Regions from separate parts of the Homo sapiens genome. Here all the other regions are linked to region 4. Evidence: promoter capture Hi-C in 16 types of primary human blood cells and fetal thymus (Javierre and others, 2016). All regions are on one chromosome and are shown on one strand. The core of a region is centred on a gene start or on the middle of the fragment in contact, and the rest is flanking DNA. Distances in the headings are between cores, read along the strand shown. Region 1 has its middle 140 kb from the start of FGF1. Region 2 has its middle 25 kb from the start of FGF1. Region 3 overlaps FGF1 (fibroblast growth factor 1). Region 4 holds the start of GNPDA1 (glucosamine-6-phosphate deaminase 1). Region 5 has its middle 6.3 kb from the start of FGF1. Region 6 overlaps FGF1 (fibroblast growth factor 1).

What was found. The method cuts DNA at HindIII sites, captures the fragments that hold promoters and counts their contacts. A CHiCAGO score of 5 or more calls a contact.
Region 1: a contact is called between a fragment that was not itself captured here and the fragment with the promoter of GNPDA1 in region 4, in 4 of 17 cell types (endothelial precursors, M2 macrophages, activated CD4 T cells and 1 more). The highest score is 9.7, in endothelial precursors.
Region 2: a fragment that was not itself captured here is called in contact with the fragment with the promoter of GNPDA1 in region 4 in 6 of 17 cell types (naive CD8 T cells, naive CD4 T cells, total CD8 T cells and 3 more); the score reaches 7.3 in naive CD8 T cells.
Region 3: a contact is called between a fragment that was not itself captured here and the fragment with the promoter of GNPDA1 in region 4, in 1 of 17 cell types (endothelial precursors). The highest score is 5.1, in endothelial precursors.
Region 5: a fragment that was not itself captured here is called in contact with the fragment with the promoter of GNPDA1 in region 4 in 4 of 17 cell types (naive CD4 T cells, naive B cells, total CD8 T cells and 1 more); the score reaches 6.3 in naive CD4 T cells.
Region 6: a contact is called between a fragment that was not itself captured here and the fragment with the promoter of GNPDA1 in region 4, in 1 of 17 cell types (endothelial precursors). The highest score is 5.8, in endothelial precursors.

What each region holds. Positions count from the first base shown.
Region 1 is chr5:142,540,820-142,544,878 of GRCh38, forward strand. No RefSeq gene overlaps it. Among named protein-coding and RNA genes, the nearest start is that of FGF1, 140 kb to the right of the region's middle. The HindIII fragment of the contact is 2,151 bases long and covers 1,326-3,476 here.
Region 2 is chr5:142,709,293-142,713,461 of GRCh38, forward strand. No RefSeq gene overlaps it. Among named protein-coding and RNA genes, the nearest start is that of FGF1, 25 kb to the left of the region's middle. RefSeq lists a silencer at 3,910-4,109. The HindIII fragment of the contact is 1,740 bases long and covers 684-2,423 here.
Region 3 is chr5:142,611,504-142,615,877 of GRCh38, forward strand. It overlaps FGF1 (fibroblast growth factor 1), which reads right to left. Exons shown (of 4, transcript NM_000800.5): 2 at 2,456-2,658. The coding sequence starts at 2,624. Among named protein-coding and RNA genes, the nearest start is that of FGF1, 72 kb to the right of the region's middle. The HindIII fragment of the contact is 2,233 bases long and covers 988-3,220 here.
Region 4 is chr5:142,010,135-142,014,470 of GRCh38, forward strand. It overlaps GNPDA1 (glucosamine-6-phosphate deaminase 1), which reads right to left and starts at 2,893. Exons shown (of 7, transcript NM_005471.5): 1 at 2,861-2,893; 2 at 1,778-1,907. The coding sequence starts at 1,901. RefSeq lists silencers at 2,018-2,077, 2,749-3,018 and a cis regulatory region at 4,160-4,336. The HindIII fragment of the contact is 4,254 bases long and covers 1,983-4,336 here.
Region 5 is chr5:142,690,182-142,694,556 of GRCh38, forward strand. It overlaps a transcript of FGF1 not described here. Among named protein-coding and RNA genes, the nearest start is that of FGF1, 6.3 kb to the left of the region's middle. The HindIII fragment of the contact is 823 bases long and covers 2,184-3,006 here.
Region 6 is chr5:142,594,542-142,598,828 of GRCh38, forward strand. It overlaps FGF1 (fibroblast growth factor 1), which reads right to left. Exons shown (of 4, transcript NM_000800.5): 4 at 1-943. The coding sequence ends at 749. Among named protein-coding and RNA genes, the nearest start is that of FGF1, 89 kb to the right of the region's middle. The HindIII fragment of the contact is 5,090 bases long and covers 298-4,287 here.

The DNA of each region.
Region 1 (4,059 bases), core at 1,151-3,650, 530 kb after region 4:
AGACTCAGGGTCTCACTTGGGAGCGGGGGCTGGGGGTATGGAAGTGGCTGAGCAGCAGCAGCAGCGACATAAGGAAGTTTTTGTGAGGCTGACTAGGGAGGGTGGGGAAGACTGGATTTCTGGTTCACCCCGACCACTGGTGCTTTCTGTTTTTAAAACAGACGTGCTTCATCCTTCCCAGAGCAGGGGCCAAAGATGGGAACTCGAAATGCAAAGTCCCAGCCGGGGAAATTAAGCTGCAAGAGCTCAACGCCTGAAAAATATTGACTGTTTCTTTTTTTAAGCTAATATTCCAAATTTCTTATGAAAGTCAACTTAGACATCCAGGACACAGGAAACAAGGCAAGAGGCCGCAGCCAGCTGCCTCAGAGGACCCGGGACACTTTCTTAATAACATCCAGATGGTTCCACAGGAATTGCTAACATCTTGAAAAAAAAAAAATCAGCTGTGGGAGAAATCGAGATTCAAGTGGTTTAGGAAGGACAGCCTGGAGGAGACTCCCAAGGGACTGAGAGTGGGTCTGAAATAGAAACCTCTCTGGTGGGATGACTGCTTCCTACAGCAAGGCTGGAGAGGACTGGGTGTAAAAATCCAGGGCTTCTCTTGGAGACTTAGGGTTGGCAAGGAGCCTTGACAGAACTGGCCTCCTAGTCATGTTAATCCATTCACTAGCCTGGGGTTGCAATAACTTTTTACATTATTTTTTCTGTTACATTTACTTCACAATCTACTGTATCTGTTAGGTTCTGCAGGCACAGGGCTCAGGGCCAACAGGTTTTTGAGGGCCTATAGCAATATTTAGCCCTGAAAAAATGTTACATAGATAGTATATATAAAATCCTATATATGATATGCATCTATATAGACAGCAAAATATATTTATTTATTTTTTATTGATTTATTTTTTTGAGACAGAGTCTCGCTCTGTCGTCCAGGCTAGAGTGCAGTGGCACGATGTCAGTTCACTACAACCTCTGCCTCCCAGGTTCAAGCGATTCTCCTGCCTCAGCCTCCTGAGTAGCTGGGATTACAGGCACCTGCCATCACGCCCAGCTAATTTTTTTGTATTTTAGTAGAGATGGGATTTCGCCATGTTGGCCAGGCTGGTCTTGAACTCCTGACCTCAAGTGATTCAACTGCCTCGGCCTCCCAAAGTGCTGGGATTATAGGCGTGAGCCACTGGGCCCAGACTTAGACAGCAAAATATAAATATATTTTCCAACAAATGAAAGAACCCCACCCCCCAAATTTAGTGGATTAAATGCCTATAATAGCTAACCGATTGTATCAACTCCATCAGTTCTTAAGTTTAGTATTCGTTAAAAGCTTTATTTCATTTGGAAACAATCTGTATGTTAGATTTTCTCATTTCTGAGGAATTGTTTCAACATCACCTCCTTGGAGCCCAATAATTTTAAAAGCAAAATTTTTGAATCCTTCCATAGTTATGCTGCATGCTGTGGAATGAAGAGGCTGCGGCTCACCAAGGCTCACAAAGACCTTACCACGATCCCGGGTGTTCAGAAGAGGTGTGTGTTTCTTCCTTCCTCCCTCTCGTCACAGTTGCTGTCCCCCAAGGAAGAGGAAATGACTTGCTTGTGGAATCCGTTTGCAAGCAAATCACTTATTTGGAACCAAAAATGGGGGAGAAGGAAGTAGGAGCCATAGACTCAGGGCTTGATCAGGATTCCGCAAGCCTTAGAGTTTTCCACTCCCCACAACATACCTCTCACCTGGGCCATTTAGAGGCATCTCCTGCCTCCCACTCTGTCTCTGCCTGAGGTCTACACTCCGCGCCCCCCCACCACCCCCCAGCCCGACCCCCACTTTAACAGGATTCAACTCCTTTGTCTGACTGTGACCACAGGTGATGAGAGCTGGGAGGGCGAGTTGGTTGGCCTTTCTTGCAGCTCCCACATTCTAAATCAGGAAGCATGCAGGAGTGGAGAATGAACAGCAAGAATATACACAGCCTGGAACTTCCAGTCTGAAATGTCTAGGGCATTTAGTATGAAAAATCTGTTCATAACTGAAAAAAGAAAACACCTAATGCAGGAACCAGAATTTTCTGCAACAAGCAACATTACCAAAAAAAGACCAGCCAAGAGGGCTTGCCAGAATTGGCTATAGAGCGTTATACCAGGTAAACTCGTCAGATGGAACCATGTCTTTCCTTTGGGAGAACACTGACATTTAGGCTTTGGCTTCTTGAGATTCTGCTGGAGGACTTTTCAGAGGAATGCAATGACTCCTTCCTTCCTCCCTGAACTGAAATCCGGGCTATTACAATTCCAAATGGACACAGAGTCCTGCCAAGTTTATAGGAAATTGGAATGACAGCTTGGGTTCCCACCACTAGGGATAGCAGAAGCTGAATGCTCAGAGAATAAGTAACATTTCCCTGGTGATTCCCAGTGTGTCTATTTTTATTTTAAGGAGTTCTGTGTTTTCATTCAGTTTTGTGAATGGAGGAATCCATATGGAATTTTCACCAACTCTACTAAAATAAAAGCATGTAACTTTTCAGCAGTGTACTGAAATATCCACAAAGATTCAAGGTTAGGTTGGAAAGAATTCCAGACATTCACTTTTGAAGACCTGTGAAAAATCTGCTAACTTCTAATGGGTACCTTCTGGGCATATGACAAAGGACAATATCAGTTGCTAAATCCATCCATGTACAAGAGATATTGTCTTCAACAAAGCACAGCTCATCATTTAATAGAAGTTACAAAGTAGTTACTCTAAGATAAGCAGCTTGTTTTAATAAATATCAAGTATGAATATTTATATATTTTATTGAAAGTGCAGGATTTTGGGGGTGGAATGGGAAAAAGAGACTGATAAGTCCCATGCATAAAACAGGTATATTTTTACTGGTAATTTCCAGTAAGTTTTCTTGAACATGTATATTATTCACGACTATTTGAAATTATCTTGTTTGTTCATTTGTTTGTTTACTGATGGTGTGATTCCCAGCTTCTTCAGTGTCCACCTCCACCTCTTTATTTCCTCTCTAACATAAGCTGCACAAAACAGGGAGCTTATCTATCTTGACTCTCTACCTCCAGACCTAGAAGAGTGCCCGAAACATGGTTCTAAGTAAATGATTTTCTCCCCTCTTCATCCAACCGACAAAAATTTCCTCCTCCTCTTTCCTTATTTTTTTAAAAGGTTAGTAATGAAAAAAGACATTATACATATTCATACAGGTGACTGGGATTTTTGTTACAGTTGTTACTGTTTGTCTTGTCTTATGGTACACGTTAATTGGACAATGTGCCCACATTATTCATGTAAAAAATATGTGTCTTCTCTGTACCCAGCACTGTTCTCAGAAGGAAAAATCCTGTATCCATGGAACTTACATTCCAGTGGAGAGAGACAGACAGTAAAACATAAATATATATTTTGTCAAGTGGGGATAAGTGCTATGAAGAAAAGTAAAGCTGGATTTTAAAGGGGTGGTCAGGGAAGCTTTCTGATAAGGGGCCATCCTTATCAGAAATGAGAGCTTAGGAAGCTAAGCTTGCTGATAGCTGGCGGAAATGCTGCCTGGGTAGCATCATGTGCACAGCTTAAAGCCGGACACATGCTTACCTCCTTTGTGGAGTAGCAGGGAGGCTGGAGCAGAGTTAGCCACAGGAGCGGGTGTAGGAGGTGCCATGGGAGAGCTGCGGCAAGTCACAGAGGGCTTGGGGGCCTGGGCAGACTGTGGCTTCTACTCTGTATGACATGGGGAGGCCCCTCGAGGGTCTAGAACCAATGGGCACCATGACGTGGCTTAGGTTCTAAAAGGCTTCCTCTGGCTGCTGTGTGGCAAAAAGAATGGGATGGGTGGCTTGGCAAGAGGGGAGGAACGAGACCAAGTAGGAGGCTTTGTAGTAATCCAGGTGAGAGGGATGGCAACCCAGACTAGTGGAAGTGATGAGAGATGGTCAGATTTTGAATATGCTTTGAAGGCAGGGCCAGTGAGATTTGCTGATGATTTGAAAGTGGGACATGAGAGTGGGAGCCAGGGATAGTTTTGAGGCTGTCAAGCTGAGCACTTTGCAGAA
Region 2 (4,169 bases), core at 304-2,803, 700 kb after region 4:
AACATTAGCAGGAGTTTGGAAGAAGTTGATTCTAACCCTCACGGATGACTTAGAGGAGTTCAAGACTTCACTAGAGGAAGTCACTGCGGAGGTGCTGGAAACAGAAAACTAGAATTAGAAGTGGAGCCTGAAAATGTGCCTGAATTGCTTCAATCTTGTAACGGTTAATACTGAGTGTTCACTTGATTGGATTGAAGGATGCAAAGTATTGTTCCTGGGTGTGTCTGTGTGAGCTTCCCTAGTTTTGAGGTTTTGGGACTTGGACTGGTTTCCTTGCTCCTCAGGTTGCAGATGGCCTATTGTGGCACTTCGCCTTGTGATCATGTGAGTCAGTACTCCTTAATAAACTCCCGTTCATTTATACATCTATCCTATAAGTTCTGCCTCTCTAGAGAACCCTAATACAAATTTCATGATAAAACTTGAACGAAAGAGGAGCTGCTTCTTATGGATGAGCAAAGAAAGTGATTTCTTGAGATGGACTCTACTCCTAGTAGAGATGCTGTGAACATTGTTGAAATGACAATAAAGGATTTAGAATATTCCGTAAACTTAGTTAATACAGAAGCAGCAGCATTTGAGAGGACTGACTCCACTTTTGAAAGAAGTTCTACTGTTATTAAATGCTACCAAATATGGTACAGAGAAATATTTTGTGAAAGGAAGAGTCCATTGACATGGCAAGCTTCATTACTGTCATATTTTAATAACTTGCCACAGCTACCTCAAACTTCAGCAACCACCAGTCTGATCAGTCAGTAACCATCAATATCGAGGCAAGACCTTCCACCAGGAAAAAGATTATAACTCACTGAAGGCTCAGACGATCATTACTATTTTTTTAGCAGCAAAGTATTTTTAATTGAGGTATGTACATTTTTAGACATAATGCTCTTGCACACTTACTAGACTACAGCATACTGTCAACATAACTTTTATAGGCACTGGGAACCAAAAATTTGTATGATTCACTTTGTTGCAATACTTGCCTTACTGCGGCAGTCTGGAACCAAACCCACAATATCTCCAAGGTCCACCTGCAAATGCAGGCAGTGGGCCAGGTATACATGCATACATATGCCTTATGTGAGGGGTGGGCACTGAGGTTAACTAGAAAGCATGAGCCTATTTTTGCCTTGTGGTAATAAGGGCCTCATATTGCCAAATTTTTCCATTTTTTTCAAAAGAAGTAGGAAAGGAAATGCAGGCTTTTAAAATGTGAAATCCCAATTTTCAATTGTTGGTTCAAAAAAAACTTAAATCTCAACTAGCCAAATAAAATGCATCTGGGGTCCACACCCAGCTACCCTATAGGATACTAATTTAAAATATCTGGACTATAGTCTATATTGATGAGAGAAGTGGGGTGAAACTTGGCATTCCCTTGCCATTAACTTCTAGCCTCCCAGTAGTCCAGGCTGCCTTGAATAAACACCAGACCATCATACAAAACAGAGTTTTTATCTTATTTATTTATTTATGAGTTGGGTGTCTTGCTGCATTACTCAGGATGGAGTGCAGTGGCACAATCATAGTTCACTGAGGCCACGAACTGCTGTGCTCAAGTGATCCTCTCACCTCAGCCTCCTGAGTAGCTGGGACTACAGGTGTATGCCACCACATAAGGCTAATTTTAATTTGTTTTTGAGAGACAGAGTCTTGCTATGTTGCCCAGGCTGGTCTTAAACTCCTGGCCTCAAGCAATCTTTCCACCTTGGCCTCTGAAAGTACTAGGATTATAGAAGTGAGCCGCTATGCTTGACCAAAACACAGTTTTTAAATCAATTTATGTCTTTACTGAAATCTCTTAAAGATGCCAAAGGGTGGGGTTTGGGTTCCATTCATAACACCAACATTTCTGAAGAATCCTCTTCTCTTGTCTCTTTCTCAAGTCCTCCTCATGACATCTGTGTTAGTCCGTTCTCACACTGCTATGAAGGACTGCCTGAGACTGGGTAATTTATAAAAGAAAGAGGTTTTAATTGACTCACAGTTCCACAGGGGTGGGAAGGCCTCAGGCGGAAGGGGAAGCAACCACATCCTTCTTCACATAGCGGCAGGAAGGAGAAGTGCCAAGCAAAGGGGAAAAGCCTTTCATAAACCCATCAGGTCTCATGAGAACTCAAGAAGAGCATGGGGATATGTGGAGGAAAAGTTAAATCTTAAATTTGAACTCAATTGAATGTGGACACAAACAATGGTCACCAAGTCCCAGAACAGGTTGCATGAGCCCCTTGAGGCGTTCATCCAGACGGTTTTGGAGAAATCTGTTCCTGTATGTTAGTTATTGAAAAACAACAAACAATCATAAAAACAAGTTGACCTTTTTGTGTTCCTTGAGTCCAGTCATGAAGGGCCCTCGTGACTGGGCCTCATGCCAAATAAGTCGTTACAAAAAGAACTAGGGTCCCATACCACGCCAAAGCTTCATGAGACCTCTCCTCATCTGTGCATGGATGAGCGGTCAACTCTGGAGCCCAGGCTGTTGCTTCCCTGTCTGGTGATGAATCCTCTATAGTCTGGTAAGTGTAGTGGCCGACTCTGGAGCCCAGGCTGTTGCTTCTGGTCTGGTGATGAATCCTCCATCGTCTGGTGAGTGTGTGTGTATATATATATAGTCTATATTGATGGGAGAAGTGGGGTGAAAGTTGGCATGCCCTTGCCATTAACTTCTAGCCTCCCAGTAGTCCAGGCTATATATATATATCTTCTCCCTTTTCCCCTTCCCATTGCAATTTGCTTGTATCATTTGCTTATTATATCTGCATTGCCATTTACATGGGATAAAGGTTGTTTACCCTTGAAGGTATTGCATGTGTGTCTTTTCTTTTCCCTTTGTGCATCTCCCTCATAGAAAAGAGTAACCGCCCCCATGATTCAATTGCCTACCACTGGGTCCCTCCCACAACACGTGGGGATTATAGGAACTACAATTCAAGATGAGATTTGGGTGGGGACACAGCCAAACCATATCAACAGCCCAGCAGCTACTTCAGTCCTCCTTAATTTATCTCTTGAATTCTCCCAAACCCAGCTCATCCCTGGCTTGTTTCTCTTATTCTTTCTCTCGCCTTCTGATCCATTCTGCTTTCGTTAGTATGTAACTCCCTGCCTTCTCTTAGGTAGACCCATCAACCCATCCTACCCATGGTACTGCACAATTCAGAATCCTTTCCCAAATTTTCCCTTATTATGCACAAGAAATACTCCAGGGCCAGGTGCAATGGCTCACGCCTGTAATCCCAGAACTTTGGAAGGCTGAGGCAGGAGGATCGCTTGAGCCCAAGAGTTCAAGGCTGTAGTTAGTGATGTTGGTGCCACTGCACTCCAGCCTAGGCAACACAACAAGACACTATCTCAATTAAAAGAAAAAAAAAGAAAAAAGAAAAAGAAATACTCCAGAACTTGGCTAGTGAAGACTAATTCCTCCTTCACAGGAAGGAAGTGGGGGCAGGGGAAAATGATGCTGTAAATACTCTAAAATATGTATTTTTTCCTGTCCCATCAGCTATGCCATCTGGGATGGGGTGACGCCTGGATGAGATGTCATTTTAAAGGACATTTCTGGGACATGCTGGCATCAAGGCAAGTTTTCAGGTGGCTGCCATTTCCTTGTCATTTACCTTCTATGGACAGGACAGAGTCTCCACCCAAACCACCACCCTCCCACAAAAGCGGGAAGGAGAAGCCAGAAGGGAGAGAAATCAGACTTTTCCTGATTTGTCTAATAATAGAAAGTTGGCAGAGCACGTCACAGAATAGAAAGTATTTGATAAAAACAGCATCTGTTCAGCTTGGGACTCGAGCCGGAGCTGCATGGAAATTTAATTTATTCCTTCCTCGAGTATTCCCATTAGAGTATCACAATTCTGTCTTTCTCATTAATGAGAGAAGTTGAAAACGTTGCTTCCTGTGACCAAAATGGCTTTCTTTCCCACGGGCTGATGGCAGAGGAGGCGACAGCGCAGCTGAGCGAGCGGCCAGCAGGGGGCGCGGCCCTGCCGTCCTCACACCCACCCCGGACACGGAGACGCGGGGCGAGCGGGGCGCCCCTTACACAGCCTGCGAGGGGAGACCCAGGAGGTTTTCCAAACAAGAGGCTTTGCTGACTCTAGGGGCCTAAGAATAACCACTGTGTAGTATCCTGACTGCCGGCGGCCTCAGTAAAA
Region 3 (4,374 bases), core at 854-3,353, 600 kb after region 4:
TTCTTTCGCAGAGTTTGCAAACAGAAAGAATGCATAATGGCAAGAACGTTAATTGTCCAGGGCTGCTCCAGGTAGAAAGGGGCAGAGTAGGCTTGAACTCGAGCCTGCTGACTCTTCAGTGGAATATCCAGTTCCAGTACTGACAGGTACACGGATGGGCTTCTGGCCACCCACCCCACTTACTCTGATCTCTGTCCTCTTGGTCCTTGTTCTTAGTTCCAGAGTAAGCAAATAATAGGCCCACACAACAACTCCGAGTGTTGGCAGAGAGATGCTGAATCTAAGCCTGCATCTAGCCCCTTGACTTTCCTGGGTGGCAGTACTGTTAAAAAGAGGAGTCTGGAAGGTCCTTCAATACGACCCTGTGTTACCATATGCTAGGCTGATTATATGGAAAGCTTGATGATGATAACTGCAATATGAACCAACACGTGCTGTGCTGTTCCTCTGTGCCAGCCACTGTGCCAAGAACTCTCACTATATTATCTCATTTAACCCTCCCAAGAAACCTGTGAGGCAAGGAATATTAGTATTCTTTTTGTACAAATGAGAAAAGTGAGGGTGAAAGGTGCAGTTGCCCAAGTTCACTTGGAAAATAATCTGGCATTCCTTGAATGCAGAAATCCTCACCTGCACTCCCAGGGCTACGTTGTGCTGCTTTCTAGGGGCTCCTGACATCTTAAGTCAGGCGGCCAAATCCACTGTGGACTCCAGAAGTTGTGCCAGTGTTACACACCCAGAGTGCAGTCTGTTGTGCTAATGATGGAATGGCAACAGTTAAGCCATTTTCCATTGCTACAGAAATTCCAGTATTGGAGCCTTTTTTTACTCCAGAAGTCAAGGTTTCCAGAAGAGCTAGCTTAACCCCAAGGAACATATCATGAAGTTTGTCTTTCCTCTTGGGTTCTGAGGACCGGAGAGCATTCCCTACTTTTTCAGAAAATTGGTTAAGACGTATTAGGAACACTTAAAACCCAGAGGAATTAAAGCTTGTTCGTGTTGTGTGGGGCAGATCACGTGAGTTGTGTATCATGCCTGACACAATGGACTACAATCTAAGTTTGCTAATTTGCAGTGAATATTGCTTATGTATGCTATTTAACAAACTAGAGTCTTTTTTTTTTGCCTCATTCTGACACCTGTTTTTCACTGAGTATAAGACATTCAGCAAGCCCATTTGAAGATAAGCCATCAAAACAAAGCCCAAAAGAGCTAATTCTGCAGCTGCAAGCCCCAGCCTCAGCCTTCCTGCTCCTCATCTCCAGGGTCTGTGCAGTGGGTGGGGAGGAAGGAACAACGTCACCTCGTGTAAACGCCAGCATCCATCCCCATTACCTGTGCATCTGAGGGTACAGCGTGAGCACCAGCGAAGTGGTCATTTGTTCTTAGAGCCTGCAACCTCTGGTGCATGGTCCATGAATAATTAAGACCACCTGATGTATAAACCATCATGTCAAAGTGAGTGTTTTGCATTGCATTTTGAAGCCAGTCCTACAGAAACTTCCTTCCTGCCTGTCTTCTTCTATGTCTCCTGATTTTCCTTCTCTTGATTTGTGGCAAGTTTGACTCTTGAGATTGCTGACCCTCTAAGCAGGGACTGGATCTGACTTTAGGCTTCTTTGTAACCTCTGATGCTGCAGTGGGACTCAGGGAATCTCAGATAACATCACGATAGGACCTGGACACCTAATATCAAACATACACACCAATGCCAGAAGTACCAAAGCAGAAGGAAGAGATTTTTTTATACTTAGATAGTCAAGAAGATTCTTTTCTCTAGAGTCATACCTTCATTTGTCAACACCTCTGAGAACCGGGCTGCCAGGAAGTCCTGGAAGAGATATTCAGCATTTGGCGCTAGTCGCTCCTACTCTCCAGTTTCTATAAGGTCTGGAGAATGACTTTACCACTGCTGGTTACCACAGCCACATCTGCGTGATACGCAGAGGGAAAGCTGCATAATTTATGATGTGTAAGACTACGATTATGAACTGGGATTTCACAAATCAAGCCCAGTGGAAACATAACCAGGAGAGTCAGTTGACTTGAAACGGAGCCCACATCTCTGTGCAGGATTTACCACCATGCCTGTCTGGTTCATCCCATCATGAAGCGTGCAGGCCCCTGACTAGCCTTCGGGGCCAGATCTTTCACTAGTTACAGAAACCTGGGAAAACATACAGCAATTGAGCACCGGCAGCCCGTTCTGTTGGGTCAGCAGAGAGTGCTTTAAAAAACTTGAAATAGGACACGTTTGGGTAAGTGGTGGCCCCCACAAGTCCCTATTTTCTAAACCCAGACATTTTACGCATTTATGTGACTCCACCTCTGAATGTGTCATGCCTGAATAGAACCTTGGAGAAGCAAGTACCTGTACTTAAATGTGCACCTTCCTCCCACCTTGACTACAGAAGATGTCAGAAAGGGAAGGGGGGTGCCATAGAGATGGGCTTACTGTGCTGGTCGCTCCTGTCCCTTGTCCCATCCACTGTGCCATCCGGAAGGATCCTCAGGAAGTGGCCCCCGTTGCTACAGTAGAGGAGTTTGGGCTTCTTGTAATTCCCTGGAGGCAGATTAAACTTCTCGGTCAGGGCTGTGAAGGTGGTGATTTCCCCTTCAGCCATGGCTCAGCAGCTGCTGCTTGTGGCGCTTTCAAGACTGTAAGAAATTGAACAAACCTGTAGTCGGTTCTTCCAGCAAAGGCACAAAATGCACTTTGAAGAGAGGAAGGACAGCTCCAGGGCACAGGGTTCCCGGGTAGTGAGTAAGCACAGCCTGCCCAGGTGATGCCCGCAGTCCGCGGGCCTGTGAGGTGGCTGGTGGTTAAGGAAGGATGGTCCCAGGCCTGGGAGGGGTTTCCAGGGCATTTTTCTCTCTTCCCAATTGGACACAGCTTTGGACCAAACTGCATTTTTTAGAACTTCAAATTTAATCATCTGACCATGGGGAAAAGAATCATGTTTTGGTCCCTCCTTCTGGTCCACACACATCCTCAAATTAAACACCAAAGTTGCACTAAAATAACACCTAGGGTCTGGCTGAAACCCACAAAAGCTGAGAGGCCAGGACCAAGGTTCTGCCCTCCACCCTCACGTTGCGTTGGTGAGGTACCGCGAAGCAGATAGCACAGATGGCCTGGACGTTCGGGACCTGCAGCCAAAGGCACAGGAGGCCTTTCAGGGACACAACAGGGAAAGTAAAGGGTTAGTATGTTAAGGGAAGCTTCTGGATTTGCTGGGGGAAACAGAACTGGAACCAGGGAAAAAGGCACAGAGTGGGAGTAAGTGGGGTTTTTAAAGGGCAAATACCATATCAAAGGAAATGTTATGAGACAGATCATTATGAAGGCTATGCCTGGTTCCTGCCCATTCTGCAGCTTTCCACATAGCTTCATGTGGCACAGAGAAGGTGGGTCTGTCCCTTGCACGCAGGCTGTTTTCATCCTAGCTATTTTCTAATGTGAGATAGAACACAGAAACCACCATATTATATATAATATACCTTTAACATTATATGTAGCCACTACATACAAACTTATATTATTAATGTGAAAATGCATCACTTACACCTCAAAGGATTAAAAAACAAAACCAATGAGCATTAGAATTGGTTAAAACATATACTTGCCCCACCATTTAGGAGAAGGAAGTGCTGGTGACTCTAAAAACTGAAAAGAAAGAGGCCAAAAAGAGACCAGGAAACTAACGTGTGAACTGCACTTTTTTTTTTTTCTCCTGAGACGGAGTCTCTGTAGCCCAGGATGGAGTGCAGTAGCACGATCTCAGCTCACTGCAACCTTGGCCTCCCGGGTCCCAGTTCAAGCAATTCTCCTGCCTTAGCCTCCCAAGTAGCTGAGATTACAGGAATGCGCCACCACACCAGGCTAATTTTTATATTTTTAGTAGAGATGGGGTTTCACCATGTTGGCCAGGCTGGTCTTGAACTCATGACCTCGTGATCCGCCTGCCTCGGCCTCCCAAAGTGCTGGGATTACAGGCGTAAGCCACCGCGCCCGGCCTGGGAGCTGTACTTTGTAAGTGTGAGTAGTGAATGTGATCATCAATACATATTGATTATCAAGTGGTCTTAGAATAAAAATCATCACCCTCATCATTAACGTATTTTGGGCTACAGGTTATCTCAAGTAATCTCACCATAATCCCTTGAAGTGGACACTAATATTATCATCATTTTTAATAAAACCAAAGCTTACAGATGTTCAGTGACCTGCCCAAGGGCAACAGCTAGTAAGCGATGGAGCTGAATCGCAAAAGGAGTCTGGGAACAGAAAGCCCCAATTTGCCCTTGATCACCATGAAAAGGTTTAGTGACTTTATCCACACTAGTCTTTTTATGAGGAGTGGGGTTTTTACC
Region 4 (4,336 bases), core at 1,643-4,142:
TCCACAGGCCAAATTTGGCCTGCGGCCTTTATTTTTTATTTTTTTAGACAGAGTATCGCTGTCACCCAAGCTGGAGTGCAGTGGCACAATCTCAGCTCACTGTAACCTCTATCTGCTGGGTTCAATTGATTCTCCTGCCTCAGCCTCCTGAGTAGCTGGGATTATAGGTGCCCGCCACCATGCCCAGCTAATTTTTATATTTTTAGTAGAGGCAGGGTTTCACCATGTTGGCCAGGCTGGTCTCAAATTCCTGACTTCAAATGATCGACCCACCTCAGCCTCCCAAAGTGCTGGGATTACAGGCGTGAGCCACCACACCCGGCCCTGTGGCCTGTTTTTATACAGCTTATGAGTTAAGAATGGTTTTCTTTTCTTTCTTTTTTTTTTTTTTTTTGAGACAGAATCTTGCTCTGTCACCTAGGCTGGAGTGCAATTGCACAATCATGGTTCACTGCCTCGACCTCCTGGCCCAAGCAATACTCACACCTCACACCGTAGCCTCCTCAGTAGCTGGGACTACAGGCATGTGCCACCATGCCTAGCTAATTTTTCTATTTTTTGTAGAGATGGGGTTTTGCCATGTTGCCCAGGCTAATCTCAAACTCCTGGGCTCCAGCAATCTGCCTACCTCAGCCTCCCAAAGTGCTGAAATTACAGATATGAGCCACCATGCCTGGCCTGGTTTTTACATTTTTAAATAGTTTTTTTTTTAATTAAAGAAGAATAATATTTTGTGACATGTGAAAATTATATAAGTTCAAACTTCAGTGTCCATACAGTTTTATTGGCATACAACCATACTCATTCACTTATATATTGTCTTTTCTTTTTTTGAGACAGGGTCTCACTGTCACCCAGACTGGAGTACAGTGACACAATCATGGCTCACTGCAGCCTCAATCTACTGGCTCAAGCAATCCACCTACCTCAGCCTCCCAAGAAGCTGGGACTACAGGTGAGCGCCACCATGCCAGGCTAATTATAGCTGCTTTCAAACAACAGAAGGGTTAAGTTGTTGCAACAGAGACTATATGGCTAGTGAAGTCTAACATATTTACTACTGGCCATTTACAGAAAAAGTCTGGACTGCAAGGAAGACCAAAAAAAAAAAAAAAAAGGAAAAAGAACAAGTTTGAAGACCCCTCCAACACACACACACACACATAGACACGCTAATGGATGGGTCAGGTAGGGCCACTAGGGCAAACCCATCCATCTCTGAAAGAAATAATCAGGACATTTGTCTTGAGGAGCTGGGGTCAAAATATCTTTCTGAAAAAGCAACATTTTGATTTTTTCCAAAAGAAATTAGAACTGTTTTTTATTTAGGTCCTGTGTTTAATTAAGCCTTACAGAAAATTACCTAAGTGACTATCTTTTCAATTCTCCCAAGGATGGTACTTAGCTGGTACCCCTCTAGATGCAGAGAAGAGAAATTAATTCATTACATAAAATGAATGCCTTAGGGTATCAGGACTTAATTCTGTTAAGAAACCCTGGTGGACAGGGCTGACTTAGGATGTAGCCTAAAAATCAAATTCTTCCTGCCAACCAAGATCCCTTCTGCTCCAGGATTCTGCAGGGACAGGCAGCGACTAAACCAACCCATAAGGGAAGCTGGGTCCTTTGTATGTGGAAGGGGCAGGAAGGTGCTCTCTCAGCACCAGTACCCCAGAGCCCCCGTGAAGTCCCTTGGCTGAGTGAGCCGGTGTACCTGGCCCCTGTTGCCTACTCTCTCCACCCTTATCCACGGCACCCTCTCCATCCAAGAACGCACCAGTGGGGAGCCCCAGGGTGAAGTACTTCTCTGGCCCTGGGTTAAACTGGATGATGCGGTTCCTGATGTATTTAGCCGCCCACTCGCTCGCCTGAGAATAGTGCTCCAGGATGATGAGCTTCATCTTGTCCTGCAGTGGGGGAGAGGGGATGACAGAAAGGAATCAATGGTAAGGGGCAGAGAAAGAGATGGAGGTGGTGGGAGAAGCTTCTCTTACCCAGCAACAATCCCCTTCCCAAGCTGTCTGAGCCAGGAAAAAGGCCTTTCTATTCACAGAGGAGCTAAGAGGCTAGGCCAGTCGTCTCCACCACCCACAGACCACGAGGAGGCGCCACTGGGGGCAGATCTGGGTTCTAATCTCAGCTCCTTCACTTACCACCTGCAGGACCTCGGTCAAAGGACCTAAGTTCTCTCTGAGCCGTTTCCTCCTATGTAAAAATTGGGACAATAGTACCTACTTCACAGACTTCACGACGGGTAATATGAAATGAGAGAATGCATGTAAACAACTTAGTATTTTCTACGTTGGCTGTTACCATCCAGATAGATGCTCGGCTCAGCCCCGCCTCCCTCATCCCTGCCCCTACCGGAACGGGATACCCTACCCCCTCCCCGCCGTCTACCCCAAGACTCTTCCTCCAGAAGTAGAGAGGTCATGGGATCATGCTGGGCCACTAGAGCAGGTGGGGCAATGAGCTCTGCCTGGGGAGCTGTGTGCTCTCTCTGGACTAGCGGAGGGGTCTTCCTACTGGCCCACCTTGCTTTGCGAACCCCTCTGGGTCTTCAGTTTCCCCCAAAGCACAAAAGGGAAAAGGTAATCGCTCCAGAAGGAGGACATTTTGTTCCCCCAGCACTGCGGTTAGTGGGAGTGTGAAGGAAAGAGGCGAAGGTGGCCCGCGCGGTCGTCGGTGGGGTACAGCGTGTCCCCCACCCCCATTACCACCCCATCGCCCCTCCGATCCCTCCTGGAAAATGTGTGAGGGCGGCTCCCCGGGGTCCCGACCCCGAGTGCCGTAGGGCTGGGGCAGCGCTCCGCGCTCCGGCCCGCGAGGAAGGTCCCCGCCAGCCCTGCTACCCACTTACACGGACGCCTCCCGCGGCGGCTGCAGCGACTGCGCCGGCGGCCCGGCCCCGCGCGGGTCACGTGGCTGCGGGTCACGCGGCGCCGCGTGCGCCGCCCGCCGGGCTGACTCAGCTTGGCCGCAGCTACCCGGACCGACTCTCCCAGGTGGAGGAGTTCCGGCCACTCAGTCCCACCTCGGTCCCTGGCCCCGGCAGGCCCTGGAACAGACCTTAAAAAACACTTTCCCTTGGGAGGCGGGGATTCGAGTCTGGTTTGTGTGTGTGTGTGTGCAAGAGGAGGGAGACTTGAGGGGCGCCGGGTCGCCCCCAGGAATACAACCCCCTGGACCTTGGGGCTGGGGCCGGGGGGTTTTAGTGCAGGGGTTGAGCTGGGGGCAGGCAAAGCAGAATCGCTTCCTCAGTCTCCTAGGGTTGGGCCTGGCTCTGCCTTCAGTTTCTTTCTTTGTTTAGATGCCATTTATTTACCCAAGTATTAAAACTTGTGTTGTTTAAAGTACAATTGGGCTTTTTAATGTCCTTTTTTAAAGATCAAACTTTGCAGCATTATATAATAGAGAAAAAGGCAGGCCCCTGGTTTCCCCAACTCCCCACACCAAGATAACCATTGCTTAGTTTAAGAGTACATTCTGAATTGCTTTCTTTGAATATGCTTACACTGTTATTTTACATAAATGGGAACACATACACATGAGGCTTATATATATCAAGGCTCGGATATTTGACCTGCATTATTTCACTTAATCCTTATTAAGCTCCAGTGAGGTAGGTTTGCCGTTACTTTTTAACAGGTGGAGAAACTGACGCTTGGAGAGAAAAATTAACTTGGCCAGAGGCACAAGTGGTTTCCCTTGTGCCTTCAATTCAGGGGGATCTGTCCAAATCCAAAATCCATGCTTTTTACCGCTAGCGGGCACTGCCTCCCAGCTGGTATGACTGGATTTGGGACGCTTCCATATCAGAAAAAGAGATCCATCTTATTCTTTCCAGTCAACATTAGAGTGTTCCAGACTTCTAGGGACACTTGGGAACTTTCCATGCGGAGGCTGGAGGAAGGACTTGAGTGCTGGTCATCAGTAACATCTTCCATTACATAGGGTTTTGCCAGAGCTTTGTGCGCATTATTTCATAGAATCCCGCCCAATCGTCAGATATGATTACCGCCATTTTATTGATGTGGAAACTGGGGATCAAAGGCGTACAGAGACTTGTGATATATGACCTCATAGTCTGACATCCCGGACTTTAGTCAGTGCTAGGGAGCAGTGGTGAGACCTTCTGAATCAGCCTAGTTTTCCTCCAGCAGCAAAAGGCCAAAGGAATCCTGGCTTTATGCCCACGGGACAGGGCCTTCCTCAGTCAGCCGGGTGGCCACGTTCTGCAATTCTGCTGAATCTGCTCACTGTGGACAGCCCCAGGCGCTCACCCAGCCCTTGGGCCCAACTGCAGCTCCAGACCAGCTTGCTAGGGGTAGGCTTC
Region 5 (4,375 bases), core at 1,345-3,844, 680 kb after region 4:
GTGGTGGCGGGCGCCTGTAGTCCCAGCTACTCGGGAGGCTGAGGCAGGAGAATGGCGTGAACCCGGTGAACCCGGCGAACCCGGGAGGCGGAGCTTGCAGTGAGCCGAGATCGCGCCACTGCGCTCCAGCCTGGGTGACAGAGTGAGACTCCGTCTGGGGAAAAAATAAAAAATAAAAAAAAATTTTACCTTTACTTAAAACGAACACTCTGTGCACATGATAACACTGCACTAAGAGGTATAAAACGACACTCATTAACCCTCTTTTCTCCAAAGATAACCACTATTCACTTTGAATGTATGGATCCTTTCAGGAAAGAAAACTGTCTTTGTACCCTGAATATGTGTATGCTAAAAACACACATTACTGTGCACAATGTCCTGCGTAATTGTTTGTTTTTCACTTAATAATAGATGTTTGCACATTGGTCTAGTTCATCCAAGCACCAAATTTCTTGCCTGGAGTATTGGGGTATCTTCCTAATTGGCCTCCCTGCTCTACCCTAACCCTCTACAGTTCATTTCAGAAGGAACCTGCTAAAAGGTAAATCAGACCATGTACGTATTTGTTCAGACCTGTCCAGGGCCTTTCCCTTGCACTAGGAACAAAAGCCAAGCTCACTACCACCACCTGCCTCTGCAAGTTCTCCCCCAACATACTCATTGCTCACCGTGCTCCAGTCACCTGCTCCTCATAACGGGCCAGGCTTGGTCCTAGCTCAGGGCCTTTGTACTTCCCATTCCCTCTGCCCAGAATTATGCATTTATTTTCTGCCTCTAGGTTATTTGCCTGGCTGGCTCTTTCCTGTTATTCTTGTCTCAGCTCAGGCCACCTGCAGCCTGACCACCCGTTCTAAATCAGCCCCTTATCACTGTCTTTTTACATCTCCCACTTTCTTTTTCCTCATACTACTTACTACTTTCTCAAAATTATTGTATTCATAAAATGTTTACTTAGGCTGGGCGTGGTGGCTCATGCCTATAATCCCAGCACTTTGGGAGGCCGACGCGGGTGGATCACCTGAGGTTAGGAGTTCGAGACTAGCCTGGCCAACATGGTGAAACCCCGTCTCTACTAAAAATTACAAAAATTAGCCAGGCATGTTGGCTGGCGTCTGTAACCCCAGCTACTCAGGAGGCTGAGGCAGGAGAATCACTTGAACCCGGGAGGTGGAGGTTGCAGTGAGCCGAGATAGTGTCACTGCACTCCAGCCTGGGTGATAGAGTGAGACTCTGTCTCAAATAAAATAAAATAAAATAAAATAAAATAAAATAAAATAAAATAAAATAAAATAAAATAAATAAAATATTTACTTACTTGTTCTGTCTCCCCTACCACATACACTGGAATACAAATTCCACAAGGAGAGCAGGACTTTGTCTTCTCACTGTTATATACTCAGTACCGAGACCAGTGGTTCTCAAGCTCGAGTGTGCACTGGAATCACCTGGAGGATTTGTTAAAACACAGATTGCTGGGCTCCAACCTCAGAGTTTCTAATTCAGTAGATCTGGGGTGGGCCTACTGAAATAGAGTTTATATTTCTAATAAGTTTCTAACTGCTGCTACTGCTCCTGGTCCAGGGACTGCATTTTGAGAGCTACCAGTCTTGACGATGCCTGGCATATAGTGGGTGTTGCATATACATTTATTACATGAATGCATGAGCCTGCACATAGGATCTGCCACCTTCTTTGTAATGGCAGTTTTGTTTTCAGTTTATCATTTATTTATATTTATGGGACTATAGGCTGTGAACCTTGCCTCCTCAAAGTCTTTGTGACAGGAAGGCCCCAAGTTTTGTCAGCTAAAATTGTGCACTATCTCCATTGATTTGTCAATTGATGATTAAAAACCTAAAGTTTAGGCCAGGTGCAGTAGCTCATGCCTGTAATCCCAGCACTTTGAGAGGCTGAAGCAGGCAGATTGCTTGAGTCCAGGAGTTCAAGACCAGCCTGGGCAACATGATGAAACCCCTTCTCTACCAAAAAAAACCCCACAAAAATTAGCTGGGTGTGGTGGCATGTGCCTGTGGTCACAGCTACTTGGGAGGCTGAGGTGAGAGGATTGCTTGAGCCCAGAAGGCGCAGGTTGCAGTGAGCTGAGATCACGCCACTGCACTCCAGCCTGGATGACAGAGAAAGACCCTGTCTCAAAAAGAATAGCAGCAACAACAAACTAAAGCTTTATAGACCCAAGAGGAACCATTGAGAGACTTCTCATTCTTTGCCTCAGCAGAACATCAAACCAAAAGATGGTGCAACTCTCACTTGACATGTGACAGAGAACAGAGTGATCTCTCAGGCCTCCCCTGTAATGATTTAACAACTATCCTGTTGGTTTAGATTGGGTCTTGGTATATTGGAGTGTATGCAACATAACCCCAAGCAGGTTATGAAATATAGAAAGCCTACTGGTTTTCCTGAGTCACAAAACCTCTTGAAAATCTTGACAAGATCTATAGCTCTATTCCCCAGGACACACACACACACACGCACACACGCACACACACACACACACGCACAGACACACACACACACACAGTTTTACATTTAATTTCAGGAAGTTACAAGATGCCCCAGGCACACTTTAACCCCAAATTAAGAACTTCTGGTTTAATAATTGTCTAGCTATTTGGCAAAAACAAACAAACAAACAAACAAACAAACAAACAAACCCAATCTGGATCCCCAGTTTCTTATTTAAATTCCTGATGAATCCGAGGTTTAAGTGTAAAGAGACAAGCCTTAGAGGAAAACATTAGTTAATAAGATTTATAATCTTAGAATGGGAAACACTTTTGGAAGCATGATTTAAAACCCAGAAGTGAAAATAAAGTAGTGAGACTGATTCTAAAAAATCTAAAATGTCTGTCCAGGAAAGAGGAAAAAAACTCTCCTGGTTTAGACTCTAAGGAGAAATTAATTGATCCTATCTTTTCCATCTATCTTCTTCTCAGTGGAATTGTGTGAGTGACCTATGGCCAGGCTCTATGGGACAAGACAAGCTTCTCAGAGCTTACAGGGTGAGATCACATCCTTTGGCAAAGCCCTGTCGCGGGGTTAATTATTTCAATAGCAGTGGTTTGGGTTTTTTAAATTATTTATTTTTATTTTTTTATTTTTTGAGACAGAGTCTCACTCTGTCGCCCAGGCTGGAGTGCAGTGGAGTGATCTTGGCTCACTGCAACCTCCACCTCCCAGGATTCAAGCTATTCTCCTGCCTCAGCCTCCCGAGTAGCTGGGATTACAGGCGTGCGCCACCACACCCGGCTAATTTTTGTATTTTTAGTAGAGACAGGGTTTCACCATATTGGCCAGGCTGGTTTGGGTTTTTAAATGACTTTATTGAGATATACTTCACATACTCTGAAGTTCACCCATTTAAAATGTACAATTAAGTGGTTTTGGTATATTTACAAAGTTGTGCGGCCATCACAACTATAATTTTAGAATATTTTTGTCACCCCCCAAAGAAACCCCATATCCATTAGCAGTTCATTCCCCATTCCTCCCTCCTGCCAGGCCTAAGCAACCACTCATCTACTTTCTGTCTCTATAGATTTTCCTGTTCTGGCCGTTTCATATAAATGGAATCAAACAACATGAGCATTTTTCCTTTAGTGTGATGTCCTCAAGGTTCTTCTGTATTGGAGAACATATCAACATTTCTTTCCTTTTTATTGCTGAATAATATTTCATTGCATGGATACACCACATTTTATTTCTCTGTTCATCAGCTGATGAACATTTGGGGTGTTTCTTCTGTTTGGCTATTATTATACTGTTGTTATTCATGGGCAAGTTTTTGTGTGAACATGTGTTCATTTCTCTTGGGTCTAGCAGTGTTTTTTTTTTCTCTTAAAGATTTACCCGAAGAATTTATCTATATCTCTATCTATCTATAATCTATCTATCTATCTATCTATCTATCTATCTATCTATCTATCTATCTATGTCTATCTGCCTCTCTGTATATATGTATTCCCCCCCACCCTGCCCACCATCATAACCTCATGGAGAACCAAGCAGATTTGGGTTCTAAAGACCTCAGATCTCTTACATTCCTGGCCTGGGACCTTCTGTGCAAAGGTCACGACTCACTCTCACTATGCCTCAGTTGTGCTATCAATGGAAGGAAGGTGAGAACACCAGCTCTTTCACACTGCCACAGGATATTGTAAAGATAAAGAAAATGACGTAAATCAATAGGATCTGCTCTTTCCAAGATATGAAGCCATATGAATAGGCCAGTGTGCATCAAAGAAACAAGATACACTTGAACCAAAAGTTTTGCCAGCACAAAGATGACTGCATCAGCCGAGTCCAGTGGCTTGATGTGGGGGCACAGATGGTACAAGAAATCACCATCTCA
Region 6 (4,287 bases), core at 1,593-4,092, 580 kb after region 4:
TCCTTGCTTGTTATCAGGAAACCACTTCTAGTGCTCTCCACCTGAAGTCACCCAGGGCTCTCTGCTGCTGAGTAACCTTGGGAAGGTCAAGGCGTGGTAATGACTCCCAAGGATTTATTCTGCCTTCCTGCGGCTGGGCCTCCCTTTCTTCATTTATTCTACATGGAGATGCCATCCTTCTAAGTTACCCACCAAAATCCAATCTCTCTTTTCCATTTTAAATGCCTCTGTTCTGAAGGGGGGATTTCTTTGTCCCTGTTTCTGGTCATGGAATGCTGCCTTCCTAACCTGGCATGAAGCTTCTTTGCTAATATTTGCAGGGCACAGGAAGGACAAAAGGGAGCCATGCCAGATGTTTGGGGGAATCACAGATAGGGTTTACTCAGTAGAGGGAAATAGTGTGCAGTTACTAATGTCCCACTTAGCCGACCCCTTAACACACTTCATTTAGCCCCACTTTTGCATGGAGGGACTCAGCCTGCAAGAGGCAATTGGAGATCCAAACCCAGACCCAGACTGGCCAGCCAGTTGACTCCTAGAAGCAATTTGGTCCCTCTGTTCTAAACTGTGCAGGGGTAAAAGGCTCTGCAAAGAAGTGAACTGGGCATTTAGAAGCAAGTTGCTTACAAATTCAGGCTCTGTGGGCTGGGGGTTAGCGCAGCCAATGGTCAAGGGAACATTTTTGGGTCAACCAGGTGAGGACCCCTCGAAACTTCTCTGGAGTGGTCAACACCCAGAACAGATCTCTTTAATCAGAAGAGACTGGCAGGGGGAGAAACAAGATTGCTTTCTGGCCATAGTGAGTCCGAGGACCGCGTTTGCAGCTCCCATTCTTCTTGAGGCCAACAAACCAATTCTTCTCTGCATGCTTCTTGGATATATAGGTGTTGTAATGGTTCTCCTCCAGCCTTTCCAGGAACAAACATTCCTCATTTGGTGTCTGCTAAAAAGATAAAACCAAAAGAGAGTAGGACAATCAGTGAGTAGTTTCACATGGGGGTCCCCATTTACTAGCTGTGTGACATTGGGCAAAATACTAAAGCTCTCCATGCCTCAGTCTCCTTTTCAGGAAAATTGGGGTCATGGTGGAACTTATTTCACAGGGTAGTCATAAGGACTTAGAACAGCACCGGGCACTAAAGAGCTGTCAATATGCATTTGCTATTATTGTAAACTTCCTTTCCATTTAAAATCCATTGTAAAGTAATTAAGATGCTACTGATAAGAGCACTTCTAAGAGTCCTCAGGACTCTAGAATCTCCCACTGGGGACATTCTGCTCGACTGTAAGTACCTTGAGGGCAGGGCTGGATCTTTCATCTCTGTAGTGGCCTGGCACACAGGCCTGACCATGGAAAAACATTCCAAATAGGTAAAAACCAGACTGTGATGTAGTGGGTTGTTGTTGTTGCTGTTGTTTTAACTTGAAGGCTAGACTTAAAGAATAAACAAAAAGCTGCTAAAATGCCTTTTATCCTGGTGATTTTCACTAACGTCAGGATTTTACCTGAGTATTGTTATGAAGATATGCTTGTGCAAAATTTATCCTAAGCATGAAACATATCCTAGAATGTAGATTTTTTAAAATGAAAATAGCTTTATTTTTTGCTACTTATAAAAAGAATCTTATAAATAGATGCTACTTGTGGTCAGGCACAGTGGCTCATGCCTGTAATCACAACACTTTGGGAGGCTGAGGCAGGAGGATTGCTTGAGCCCAGGAGTTTGAGGCCAGTCTGGGCAACATAGCAAGACCCATTCTCTACAATTTTTTTTTTAATTAGCTAGGTGCCATGGTGTGTGCCTGTAATCACAACACTTTGGGAGGCTGAGGCAGGAGGATTGCTTGAGCCCAGGAATTTGAGGCCAGTCTGGGCAACATAGCAAGACCCATTCTCTACAATTTTTTTTTTTTTAATTAGCTAGGTGCCATGGTGTGTGCCTGTAATTACAACACTTTGGGAGGCTGAGGCAGGAGGATTGCTTGAGCCCAGGAATTTGAGGCCAGTCTGGGCAACATAGCAAGACCCATTCTCTACAATTTTTTTTTTTTAATTAGCTAGGTGCCATGGTGTGTGCCTGTCCTCCTAGCTACTTAGGAGGCTGAGGTAGGAGGATTGCTCGACCCCAGGAGTTTGAGGCTGTAGTGAGCTATGATTGTACCACTGCACTCTAGTCTGGGTGACAGAGCAAGAACCTGTCTCTAAAGAGTAATAAAAATGCTACTTATAAGAAGAATTGTACTTTTAAAAATATACCTTTACTTTGTAAAAAGAAAAAACTATCCCAAAACCCACCACCCAGATATAGGCAACTGTTAATCACTGATAAACATCCTGCCTTACATCTCTTTATGTACATACAGACTAGATAAGGCTATATGGATATAGACTTATGATATCATCAAAATGTCATGTTTTATTTGATGTTTTAAAAATGAACAACAAACCTATGAAAACATTCAATACTGCTAACGAGAAAAATGCAAATTAAAAATTATTTATCATATGTTAGCTATCCTATGTGCAAAGATAAAAAAAAATTTGTGCAAAGATAAAAAACCATTTGCAAGACTTAGAATGTGGGAACTAGGCACTGCCATGCACAGTTGGCGAGAAAAATTAGTGGAAACTTTCTGAAGACAATTTAGCAATATGTATCAAAATTTACAAGATGTATTACCTTTGACTCAGCAATTTCACTTCTAGGAATCTACCCCTAGGAGATGGTTGAGTAAGTGTACAACTGTATTTTTGAGGATGGTCTCTGAACCAATGGTTATAGGGGCAAGCGATTAGGAGTAACCTATATGTCCATGGAAAGGTGATTGGTTAAGTGGGTAAAAGAATATCCGTACAGTAGAACCCAGTGCAGCTGTACATTTATTAAGTTGAAAATCAGCCACAACGTATTAAAGAGTGCAGTTACTTGAAAAAAATCCAGCAACCACTATTTTGCTTACTTGTAGTCAATCTGTTGGTGGAAGGGGAACTCAGTTTTTGAACTTTCTATTCGTCAAGATCTTAGAATATATTTATTACATTTGGGTCTAAAACAGGTATATTAAAACACTTATGCTGGAACTGAGACATCTGACTTTGCTTTGCCTTTTTCAAGTCGTGTGACCCCTGCAGTCTCTCTTCACCCACAGTGGTTGGTGATTCCCTGTCTGGCGGTTTCCAATTATATTGTTCATTGTTCTCTATGTGTGAGCATGTTTGTTTCTTTAGATTATAAACCCTAGTGAGGAAGGAGATGGAATCTTGTTGGTCTTCTCTCCATCCCCCAGACACAGAGCCTTGCAAATAATAGGTGCTCACCAGCTAAGTAATGCATTTAATTTGATTCTTGAGATAATATAAAGCAGTCAGTAAAGTCAGCCTTTCTTAGTAAGGAACTGTGTAACAGGAAGTATCCTGCTTCTTATTCATTCATAATCTAGTGAAATGACAACAGGGTGAGACACTTTAGATCATATTGGAACAAGATGAGATATAAATATAATATTTTATTGGATGACTCTGCTGCCTCTAGAGGAACTTGGTGCAGACATTCGTGTTTGATGCATGTTGTTGGGGGTAGAAGGAGGTAGACAGCTTGGACCTATGTGGGTTGCCCACTCCCTTGTAGGGAGGACTCATGCCTGACACCTCATAGTGGGCATCAGGCCTGTGTTCTGTGACGAAGGTGAGGATGGCCACATTCCCCACCTGATGTCTCTATTATACTGGAGGAGTTGACACACACAAAATAGCTGAGTCACAGGCTGAGTCAGCAGGCCAGATCAGCGGTGCTCCGTCCCTCCACCAGGATTTGTTAGCACTCATTATGCACTTGGTACAATGCTGAAGACATGTGGCTTAACTATTGATTCATGTCTATTGTTTAAATTGTCTTCTTTTTTATATTTGGCATGTTTCCCCTCCCACCCTAAATTACATAGGTGACATATACTTACTGTAAAAAAAAAATTGGAAAATACAGGAAGTTATTCACATATTATAAAATCACCCATTCTCCACCCCCAGAGATAACTATATCAGTATTTTGATATATAGCCTTTCAAACTTAAAAAAAATATACATATCCTTTCCACACACACAAGTTTGAATCAGGATGGATTAGTGCCTAAATTTTATGAAGAGCATGAAGCAGAGCTTTGAGATATCTTAGAACTTCTCTTTATCAATGGGGAAAATGCAAACATTCTTAGGCGTAATATACTAAGATCATATTTCAGGTGAATTGTAGTGATGGCCACGGCTATGGTGGGAGAAGGGGGTGCCTG